Linked DNA regions of Homo sapiens: regions 1, 2 and 3 are each linked to region 4. The links are contacts of gene promoters, found by promoter capture Hi-C in human tissues and cell types (Jung and others, 2019). All regions are on one chromosome and are shown on one strand. Each heading gives the region's core, a stretch centred on a gene start or on the middle of the fragment in contact. The rest is flanking DNA. Distances are from core to core; before and after follow the strand shown.

Region 1 (2,700 bases), core at 19-2,518, 36 kb after region 4:
ACGGAAATGAGCCTGGGTTTGCAGTCGAGTTAGAATTGGGGTCGAGTTGAGTTTGGGAGTGAAACTGGAGGGTAACGTTGGAGCTAAACGCATTGCTAGGACTACCCAGTGGGCCAGTTAATCAGGCAGGACTGGAGGTTGTATCTCATGCTAGGATTGGGGTCAGTATGCACGTTGGAGCCATGGATGGAATTGGGGTTAACTTTGGTGGTGAATTTGGAAACAGAATAGAGTCGAGGTTCAATTTTGGCTTTGGGCTGGTGTTAAAATTCAAGTTGATTCTGGGGTTGGGGTTGAAGTAGGAGCTGGGTGGGGGGCGACAGGTGCGGTGGCTCACGCCTATAAATCCCAGCACTTTGGGAGACCGAAGCAGACAGATCACTTTAGGTCAGGAGTTTGAGACCGGCCTGGCCAACATGGTGAAACCCCATCTCTACTAAAAATACAAAAATTAGCTGGGTGTGGTGGTGTGCGCCTGTAATCCCAGCTACTTGGGAGGCTGAGGCAGGAGAATCACTTGAACCCAGGAGGCAGAGGTGGCAGTGAGCCGAGGTTGTGCCGTTGCACTCCAGCCTGGACGACACAGTGAGACTCAGTCTCAAAAAAAAAGAAAATGTAGAAGCTGGGGTTAGTATTGGGATTAGGGCATGGCTGGGCTGAGATGAAGATAAGGCTGGAAATGGGCCACCAATGAGGCTGAGTCTGAGTCTTAGTTTATTTTTATTTTTATTTATTTATTTTTTGAGATGGAATTTCGTTCTTGTCGCCCAGGCTGTTGTGCAACGAGGCCGTCTCGGCTCACTGCAACCTCTGCCTCCTGGGTTCACAAGATTCTCCTGCCTCAGCTCCCGGAGTCTTAGTTTATGACAGGGGATTGTGGCTGCCGTAACCCAATCTAGAATCCAGTGAAGGGAACAGAGTCTCAAATCTCCACGTAGTAATTAAACCCCACACTGCCGCCTTATATTTATTTTCATTTAGTCCCACCCAAGACCCAAAGTCCCCCTCTCCCTGCTTCCTCTGACATCCCCTGTCCCCTGGGTCTCACCGGCACCGGCAGCACCATTACCTGTGGGAGGTCTGGAGGGTGTGATTCCCACGTTGGTTGTGCTGCAAGGACCAGAGGTGGGACGTCACTCAGAGTTGGGAGCGCTGTGTCCTGGAGAGCTGGGGTAGAGGTGACTGGAGTCCTGCTGGTCTTGGGTCTGAAATCCCAGGAGCCCTATCATCTGGGACATCCCATCTCCTCAACTTTAGACAGTAAATGAGAATGAACAGGGATTAGAACACACAGAGACCATGTGTGGGTGGGGAGAGTTGGGTTTGAGGCCAGCTCTGTTCTCCTCCTCCAGGCCATGCCTACTTCCTTTCCTCTTCTCGGAGCTTCCTCATTTTTACCATCTGGGAGCAGGGCTGGATCAGAGGTACAATCTGCTGTTGCTCCTCTACCCTACACTTCCTTTCACTTCCTGCCTCTACATTTCCCAGAATTGTTGGGTCTCCATCATCGCACCTCTGATCCTAGAGAAGCCCAGTCTGTTCTCTTGCTCAATCCTGGCCTGAGTCCCTGGCATCAGCATCCTCTGGGTCCCAGTCATTCGGCTGCTCAGCTGTGGCCTCGCTCGCCTCACTCCACTCGGAAGGAGGGAAGGGGGTGCCAGAGAATAGAACTTCTTGGCCCTAATAGGACGGGAGAAGCCAAGGAAAAGAGCAAATTTTATTGAGTAATCTGTGATAGGATTATGCCAGACATTTACCTTCCACAACCATTCCCCCCAAGCACCTGGGGAGGCATTTTGGATGACGGACTAAAGGCTCAGAGCCCAAGATCACTCACAGCTTGTAAGGAGACAGTTTGGCACCCTGCTCTGGCTCTCAGCACAGGCGCTGTCTTCATGAACAGGATTCCATTTCATCCCATGATCCCTGCTCAACCCCTAAGGGAGCTGCCCTGAATCCACGCGCACATCCCTTTCAGTAGGAAGGAAACTGAGTATCTTACAAGGTGGAGAAGGAGAAGAAATACATTTTAGGTTATATTTTGTATGTACATGGGGTTGTGTTCTGCTATGTGCTTTTTTTTTTTTTTTTTGGAGTTAACAAGCTATCAGGAACATTTCTCCACATCAGTTTATAAAATGTACTTGATCTACCTGCACCTCATTTCATCATAGGCACCGTAATTTATTTATTTAGCATTTCTCTATTGACAGAAATAAATCAGAAATTTAAGTTGTTTCTTTTTCTTTTCTTTTTTATTTTATTTATTTATTTATTTTTTTGAGACAGAGTCTCACTCTGTTGCCCAGGCTGGAGTGCAGTGACACAATCTCGGCTACTGCATCTCCTGGGTTTAAGCGATTCTCCTGCCTCAGCCTCCCGAGTAGCCGAGATTACAGGTCCCGCCACCACACCCAGCTAATTCTTGTATTTTTAGTAGAGAGGGGTTTCACCATATTGGCCAGGCTGGTCTTGACCTCCTGACCTCACATGATCTGCCCGCCTCAGCCTCCCAAAGTGCAGGGATTACAGGCGCGAGCCACCGCACCCGGCCAGGTCGTTGCCAGTTTTGTTTTTATTTGGTATTCGGTATTTTGATTAGTATATGTCGCAGGTTCGGTTTTTGGAAGCCAAGGTTGAGGCTGAATTTGGGGTACAAGCTATTTATTAGGGATTAGCACTTCGAAAAGGAAAGTGGAT
Region 2 (2,700 bases), core at 134-2,633, 56 kb after region 4:
TGCAGCTTCAATTTCCTGGGCTCAAACTATCCCCTCATCTCAGCCTCCCAAGTAGCTGGGACTGCAGGGATGCACCACCACATCCAGCTGGGGTGTGTGTGTGTGTGTGTGCATGTTGTACAGACTGGGTTTCGCCATATTGCCCAGGCTAGTCTCAAACTCCTGAGCTCAGGCGACCCACCACCTCAGCCTCTCAAAATGCTAAGATTATAGGCATGAGCCATTGCACCCAGCCTATTTTCACGGTTTTTTAAATTTAATCCCAATCGTGTACATTTTGAAGGGGCAATCCTAGAAAATTTTTCAACTGAAAAGTGGGAAGTCTTGACCTATCCCAAGCTTATGAGCAAAAAAATTACTTTGAAACATTCTATGTGAAAACAAAGAAACAAAAGTGGTAACTACTTGCCCCCTACAGAGAATGATTACATAATGCATGGTACATCCCTACTTTGGAATTCTCTACAGCTGCTAAATCCAAGGAGGTAAAACCTGCCAGGTAATGGCATAGATTAGACTGGTGTCCACGAGACACTGTGAAGCGGAACAGGCACTATGTAATGACATAATATTGCATCTACTCATGTACACAGGAAGGGCTCTGGCAGGGGACACAGGAAAGAGTTGACTCTGGGGAGACGGAGGAGGACTGAGAGGACACTCGTGTGCGTGCGTGTGTGTGTGTCATTTAAAACATTTTTTTACTAATAGAATGTATTACTTCTGTACTTTAAAAATTTAAAAATATGGGGCCGGGCCCCGTGGCTCATGCCTATAATCCCAGCACTTTGGAAGGCAGAGGCGGGCGGATCACCCGAGGTCAGGAGTTCAAGATCAGCCTGGCCAACATGGCGAAACGCTGTTTCTACTAAAAATACAAAAATTAGCTGGGTGTGGTGGCGCATGCCTGTAATCCCAGCTACTCGGGAGGCTGAGGCAGAAGAATCGCTTGAACCCGGGAGGTGGAGGTTGCAGTGAGCCAAGACCGCACCATTGCACTCCAGCCTGGGCAACACAGCAAGACTCCAACTTAAATAAATAATATAACCGCTGAATAGTCTTTTTAAGGTCAGTTTCAGAATGTTCTTGGAGCGGGAAGTTTGCCCACTGTGGAGATTGTTGGTGACACCCTGTGTTGAAGATATGTCTAGATCCGCTTGGGGTCAAAAAGACAGAGCCACGGTGGTGAGAAAGTGACTTACCCATCCTCCTCCTCGTCGTGACCATTTTCCTTGAAGGCTGAGAGTGGAGCTGGGGTATGCCCTGCGACCCGGTCTGGGGAGAACCCAACCGCAGAGAAAGATGTTTCCTTTGGGAGCCCTGGTGTGTCCGGAATTGGTGGGTTCTTGGTCTCACTGACTTCAAGAATGAAGCCGCGGACCCTCGCGGTGAGTGTTACAGTTCTTAAAGGCGGCGTGTCTGGAGTTTGTTCCTTCTGATGTTCAGATGTCTTCAGAGTTTCTTCCTTCTGGTAGGTTCATGGTCTCACTGGCTCAGGAGTGAAGCTGCGGAACTTCGTGGTGAGTGTTACAGCTCTTAAGGCAGTGTGGACCCAAAGAGTGAGCAGCAGCAAGATTTATTGCAAAGAGCGAAAGAACAAAGCTTCCACAGTGTGGCAGGGGACCCGAGTGGGTTGCCGCTGCTGGCTGGGGCAGCCTGCTTTTATTCTCTTATCTGGCCTGATTGGTGCGTTTACAATCCCTGAGCTAGGCACAAAGGTTCTCGACTTCCCGACCAGAGTAGCTAGATACAGAGTGTCAATTGGTGCATTCACAAACCCTGAGCTAGACACAGGGTGCTGATTGGTGTGTTTACAAACCTTGAGCTAGATACAGAGTGCCAATTGGTGCATTTACAATCCCTTAGCTAGACATAAAGGTTCTTCAAGTCCCCACCAGACTCAGGAGCCCCGCTGGCTTCACCCCATGGATCCTGCACTGGGGCCGCAGGTGGAGCTGCCTGCCAGTCCCGCGCCCTGCGCCCGCACTCCTCAGCCCTTGGGTGGTCGATGGCACTGAGCGCGCCCTGGAGCAGGGGGCGGCGCTGGTCGGGGAGGCTCGGGCCGCACAGGAGCCCACGGAGCGGGGGTCGGGGAGGCTCAGGCATGGCGGGCTGCGGGTCCCAAGCCCTGCCCCGCGGGAAGGCAGCTAAGGCGTGGCGAGAAATTGAGCACAGCAGCTGCTGGCTCAGGTGCTAAGCCCATCACTGCCCGCGGCCGGTGGGGCAGGCCGGCCACTCCGAGTGCGGGGTCCGCCGAGTCCACGCCCACCCGGAAATCGCGCTGGCCCGCAAGCGCCGCTCCCTCCACACCTCCCTGCAAGCTGAGGGAGCCGGCTCCGGCCTTGGCCAGCCCGGAAAGGGGCTCCCACAGTGCAGCGGCGGGATGAAGGGCTCCTCAAGTGCCGCCAAAGTGGGAGCCCAGGCAGAGGAGGCGCCGAGAGCGAGCGAGGGCTGTGAGGACTGCCAGCACGCTGTCACCTCTCACTGGGAGCCAGGCGGACCCTCCAGCCACAGCCCGGCCGACCCCTTTCCCACCAGTGCCAGCCACTAAGCCTGTCTGCTCCAAGCCCCTTTCCCGTTTCCCTGACCAATGTCCCTCGGGATTAGGGACCAAGGAGCAGCTGTCTAGGATGCGCGCCTTGCGTCTTCCATGCCCTCCCCTCTCCCTCCTCTTTGCATGCTGTTTCTCAGTTCCCAATA
Region 3 (2,700 bases), core at 120-2,619, 48 kb before region 4:
CTGAGCAGAGGATGTAGGCCAGAGTGGACCTAGAAGATAAGAAAGGGAATTGAATCCAGTAAGGGACAGACACTTTATTTTTTTATTTTTATTTATTTATTTATTTATTTTTGAGATAGAGTCTGATCTGGAGGCTGGAAGGCGGGGCTAAAACTCCCACTCACTTACCTCTACCAACAACTAGGCCACCAAGTCATTTCTGAGGACTGGCTCAAGAAAGCAGATTTAACTTACACTGGCCTAGCCCAGGCCACCAGATGCATCCACGGAGATCCAAATGCATATAATCACTTGAATCAAGATCTAGACAGGGACGCGTGCAGCAGGCTTCATCTGACTGATTCCTGACACGGGAGAGAAAGCCTAAGCTCCGAATCATCCTTCAATGTTTACAAAGGCCCTAAATAGCAGTGGGCTAATTGCTGTTCCTGGATTTCCAGGAGACCTGAGACCCATGAAGGAGCAGGAAAGAGCTTGGGGATAAAAAATTAATCTGGAACCTACTGGAGCGGAAGGGGCTGCACTCACCTGGAAAAGACAAAGTTCTTGGGAACTGGCCACGTAGGCCAGGTCCCTAAGCAATTCCATCCCGCACCCTAACACCCCGACTGGTGTTCCTGGGTCCCTAACATTGTCTGTACCCGCTTCGGAGGTTGGACAAAATGAGTTTTTCACTGCCCTGCCTCAGGCCTCTCTCAAAGGTCTGGCCCATGATATTTGGTGTACATTGGGACCCCAGCGCCCAGATATTTGAAACGGGGTGGGGAGCGGGTGTTGAGCTGCTACATTTCCAGGTTCTAGGTACCCTGGGGAACCCCTGGTCGTTGACGGAAGCACAGCGTTCAAGGGCGGCAGAGCTCAGGTACTGGAGGACACATGGGCCGCGCCGGGTCTAGCCGCGGGACATCCCCAGACCCCAGCACGGCCTCCCAGGCCGACCTTCCAGAAGCCGGCCCACTGCCTTCCCCGGGTCCCAGCCCAGAAAAGCGGAGACCTTCCCCTCCGTTTGGAAGATGGACTCATCCCCTACTTCCTCCTGGCTCCCCAGAAGACCTGGAGACCTCGGGAAGTGTTCTCATCTATGTTCGCTCCAACCCGGGGGCTCAGGCCCACCTCGATCCCGCCTTCCCGGGAGGTCCAGGAAGGTCCCGCCGCACCCACCCCGTTGGCCTCACCCTGGCTCGGGCCCCTTTATCATCCTGCAGCTACGCTCCGACCAGGAGGCACAGCCAGTCCCCACAGCCGGCTCTACCGCTCTGCTCGCAGGTTTGGGCTAGTCTGGGGCGGGGACTTGGGAGCGCCTAAAACTTGCGAGGAGGGCGGGGCCGCAGACCGGTCCTTTAAAGGTTGGAAGTGGCCCCGAGGCGCCGGCAGCCCTGGGCGGTCCCGGGAATCGCACAGGACCCGGCTCCCCTCGCCTAAGCTGCTGGGGGGCGCCATGGGCCGCTACCGCATCCGCGTGGCCACCGGGGCCTGGCTCTTCTCCGGGTCGTACAACCGCGTGCAGCTTTGGCTGGTCGGGACGCGCGGGGAGGCGGAGCTGGAGCTGCAGCTGCGGCCCGCGCGGGGCGAGGTCAGCGCGGGGAGCGAGGGGAGCTAGGGCAGCGGGGACCCCGGGCCCAGGCCCGGGCCGAGCTGGGCTCGCGGCGGGAGGGCGGGAGGCTGGGGGCGAGGTGACAGCGCGACCTCGCGGACTGGGACTTCCACGAAGCTGGGACGAGGTGGGCAAGATTAGGGACAGGGTCCGCAGCTGGGATCCCGGGCTGGGCTCAACCCCATCTCCCTTTCCCGCCCCTGGTCCCGGCAGCCCCCAGCTCCTTCTCCCAGTGACCCAGAGCCAATGTAAGTATGAGGCCAGAGGTCAGACGTGAAGCTCCTCCAAGAACCGGCGCGGGGAGAGCTCAGTTAATGGGACCCACGTGGGCGATGCTGCTCCAGCATCAGCTCCAGGCGCTGCGGGCCCTCGTCCTCCACCCGACTCCGGGCGTCTGAGACCCAAAGAGCAGGTTGTGCGGGGGCGGGAACGAGGCGATGCTGTCTTTGGAGGCCCTGAGAAACTGAGGTTGCACAGGAGCGCGGCTCTGTCCTCGAAACGGCCTCAGTCGGGTCCCTCCTACTAAGTCTGGCCTGGGTCCGGCCTGCACAGGAGGAGGAGTTTGATCATGACGTTGCAGAGGACTTGGGGCTCCTGCAGTTCGTGAGGCTGCGCAAGCACCACTGGCTGGTGGACGACGCGTGGTTCTGCGACCGCATCACGGTGCAGGGCCCTGGAGCCTGCGCGGAGGTGGCCTTCCCGTGCTACCGCTGGGTGCAGGGCGAGGACATCCTGAGCCTGCCCGAGGGCACCGGTGAGCAGGCGGCGTCGGGGAAGGAGGCACAAGGTCTCGGGAACTGCTGCGGGGCTAGGAGGGCAGAGTTAAGGACGGTCGGAGCAGACTTAGAGGATGTATGGGCCCAGGGCAGGTGAAATGTAGGGATCCCAGGGTGCTGGACAGAAAACGGGAAGGAGTTATGAATTCCCAAAGTTTTACACAGGCTAAGAGAGGCTGCGTGTGAGGCTGGAGGCAGGGAGTAAGTGATCTGGAGATCCCATCTTCCAAGAAGGCAAAGACAGAAAGTGGGAGTTGCAGCGATCCAGGAAAACAGAGAAGCAAAGTGAAAGTAGGAAGGAGATGTAAAGGTGACTCAGAAGTCAGGTGA
Region 4 (2,700 bases), core at 1-2,500:
GGCCCCCGCCTCGTTCGCTACCCCAGATCCCAACAAGCTCCTGTCACCTCCTTCACCCTGAATGACCCGGGCATCCCACTTCCCTCACCAGCGAGGAGGCCCAGGCCGAGGTAGAGATGCAGCAGATCGCTGGCGAAAGCCGAGAAGACGAAGCCCAGCGAGGCGAGGACGCCCCCAACCATCACCACGGGGCGGGCCCCCCAGCGCGTGCTCAGGGCGCTGCCCACGGGGCCTGAAAGGGGGCGGAGTCAACGGAAGACACGCCCCCGGGCCCCCAAACTCTCTCCAACACTTCTCATTGGCTGTTTGCCTCCCTCGAACTAATGGTTCTTCTCCTTGACCTCAAGATGCACTCTTTTCTAGAGCCGGTTGCCCTTTCTCAGGTTGTCGGGTAATCAGGTGGGTCTCCCATCCCTCCACTCACGGCTCCTCCTCCCCGTTCCTGTCTCCCGCCTCAGGGCCCCCCTCACTGGCTGCCTGCTGCACGGCCAGGGCCAGGGCGCTGATCCACGCAGTGTCCTGGGCGCTTCGGTCAAAGTGCTCGGCAAGGTCAGGGAAGGCAAGGCCCAGCGAGCGCAGCAGCCCGTAGGACAGCCCGTTTATCGCGAAGGCTGCGGCCGCCACCACCCAGCCCCAGCCCCCATCCGGGGGTCCGGCGGGCTGGGGGGTCATCGCCGTCTGCGGGGTGGGGAAACATCTGTGAGAGAAGCCTCCACGCCTGTGCTTCCGCTGGGGAGCTGGCATCCCTGAGATCCAGCCTCTGGCTGCTCGCCCGGGGTGGGCCCGTCACTCCGAGCGCGATGGCGCGGGGCGGAGGGAGCCGGAGCCTGGCCTAGGGCTGGAACTCCCGGGTCCGCGCGAGGTACGGGGACGGGGACAGCCAGATCCCCAGGCCCGAGGTTCCCCGTCCCACGCACACTCCTTCCCCCTTACCCGACCTCTCCGGGCGGTGCGGGGAGGGGAAGGGTGAGGAAGGGCTGGGCCCGGCTTTCTCTCTGCTTCCCAGGCGGGCGGGGGCCCCGAAGGGGAGCGAGGGCAGCGATGGAGCCCAACTTGGACGGGCTCTCTCGGTAAACAGAGATCACCACAGGGGCCTGAGCCACCTGGGACGCGGGGTGTACGGAGGGCGGGGGCGAGCTGAAACAGCCAATCCGGCAAGCCGCGCGTGAGGCCAGACGCCAGTCCCACGGGGATTGAATTATGTACACACACAACCCCCAGGCCCGGGGGAGGGGGGAGCGGCGAGAAATGAATGCAGAGGGGCCCTGCCCTACTCACACGCATGCACCTGCCGCCTGCTGCGCGCAGGGGAGACACGTGGATTGCAAACCCCAGCGAGCCCAGGGTCCACCGCCAACGCGTGGAAATAGGGATGGTCCCCAAAACCTGAGGGGATGAGTAGTTTTGTTCTCAGGAACGTTGCCGAGGACCAGGTAAATCTCGGATATCAATCAGATCACAGACCTCCACCAAGTGCCAGCTCTGTGCTTAGAATAACAGACCCCCAGGCCGGGCGCGGTGCAAGCCTGTAATCCCAGCACTTTGGGAGGCCGATGTGGGTGAATCACCTGACGTCAGGAGTTCGAGGCCAGCCTGACCAACATGGCGAAACACCATATCTACTAAAAATACAAAAAAAATTAGCCGGGTGTGGTGGCGGGCGCCTGTAGTCCCAGCTACTTGGGAGGCTGAGGCGGGGAATCGCTTGAACCCGGGAGGCAGAAGTTGCAGTGAGCCAAGATCATGCCACTGCACTCCAGCCTGGGTGACAGAGAAAGACTCTGTCTCAAAAATAAATAAATAAACAAAAATAAAATAAATAAAATAAAATAACAGGTCCTCAAGGACAGAGGGATGAAACACGACTCCCTCAATGTGAAGACCTGCAGTGTACCAGGCACCGTTTACACATGCTATCACTTCATCTTATGATAACCCTATGAAGAAGGTGTCGCTTTTCTTTTTTTTTTTTTTTAGATGGAGTTTCACTCTGTAGCCCAGGCTGGAGTACAGTGGCGAGATCTCGGCTCATTGCAACCTCTGCCTCCTAAGTTCAAGCCATTCTCCTGCCTCAGCCTCCTGAGTAGCTGGGATTACGGGCGCCTGCCACCACTCCCAGCTAATTTTTGTATTTTTTAGTAGAGATGGGGTTTCGCCATGTTGGCCAGGCTGGTCTGGAACTCCTGACCTCAGATGATCCGCCCACCTCGGCCTCCCAAAGTGCTGGGATTACAGGAGTGAGCCAACGCGCCTGGCCGATGTCGTGCCTCTTTTATAGATGCAGTAACTGAAGCTCTCAGGGAAAAAATGGTATGGATATTTGAATTTAGGTCTGTCCAACTGTGGACCTACAAGGAGAACAATCCCAGGACTGAAACAAAATCTGGCACAGTTAAGGGAAAGATCCTGGATACAGCTTGAAGCAAACTGCCCTGGAAAGGGTGGAACCATTGCAGGGACAGAAAACTTATGAGTCTAAAATAAGGGGTCACTGGGAATAGAAAGGATTCTTGAGATCAGAATCTCTAAACACTTAGGTTAGAATTTTATTTTTTATTATGTATGTATGTATGTATGTATGTATGTATGTATGTATGTATGTGTGTGTGTATTTATTTATAGAGACAGGGTCTTGTCCAGGCTGAAGTGTAGTACTGCCATTATGGCTCACTGCAGCCTCCACCTCCCAGGCTCAAGCAA

What was found. The method cuts DNA at HindIII sites, captures the fragments that hold promoters and counts their contacts. A contact is called where the count stands out against the background at its distance.
Region 1: a contact is called between the fragment with the promoter of CLEC10A here and the fragment with the promoter of SLC16A11 in region 4, in 1 of the 25 tissues and cell types used here (spleen).
Region 2: a fragment that was not itself captured here is called in contact with the fragment with the promoter of SLC16A11 in region 4 in 3 of the 25 tissues and cell types used here (H1 embryonic stem cells, dorsolateral prefrontal cortex and spleen).
Region 3: a contact is called between the fragment with the promoter of ALOX12 here and the fragment with the promoter of SLC16A11 in region 4, in 1 of the 25 tissues and cell types used here (pancreas).

Annotation. Positions count from the first base shown.
Region 1 is chr17:7,078,983-7,081,682 of GRCh38, forward strand. CLEC10A (C-type lectin domain containing 10A) reads right to left here and starts at 1,269. Exons shown (of 9, transcript NM_001330070.2): 1 at 1,070-1,269. The HindIII fragment of the contact is 8,990 bases long and covers 1-2,700 here.
Region 2 is chr17:7,098,609-7,101,308 of GRCh38, forward strand. No RefSeq gene overlaps it. Among named protein-coding and RNA genes, the nearest start is that of ASGR2, 15 kb to the right of the region's middle. The HindIII fragment of the contact is 3,021 bases long and covers 1-2,700 here.
Region 3 is chr17:6,994,680-6,997,379 of GRCh38, forward strand. It overlaps ALOX12 (arachidonate 12-lipoxygenase, 12S type), which reads left to right and starts at 1,370. Exons shown (of 14, transcript NM_000697.3): 1 at 1,370-1,573; 2 at 2,147-2,348. The coding sequence starts at 1,439. The region is part of intron 2 of ALOX12-AS1 (ALOX12 antisense RNA 1); the gene reads right to left. The HindIII fragment of the contact is 20,112 bases long and covers 1-2,700 here.
Region 4 is chr17:7,042,842-7,045,541 of GRCh38, forward strand. SLC16A11 (solute carrier family 16 member 11) reads right to left here and starts at 1,251. Exons shown (of 5, transcript NM_001370549.1): 1 at 934-1,251; 2 at 471-678; 3 at 89-232. The coding sequence starts at 672. LOC124903909 (a long non-coding RNA gene) reads left to right here and starts at 226. Exons shown (of 2, transcript XR_007065598.1): 1 at 226-399. RefSeq lists silencers at 598-657, 728-857. The HindIII fragment of the contact is 14,065 bases long and covers 1-2,700 here.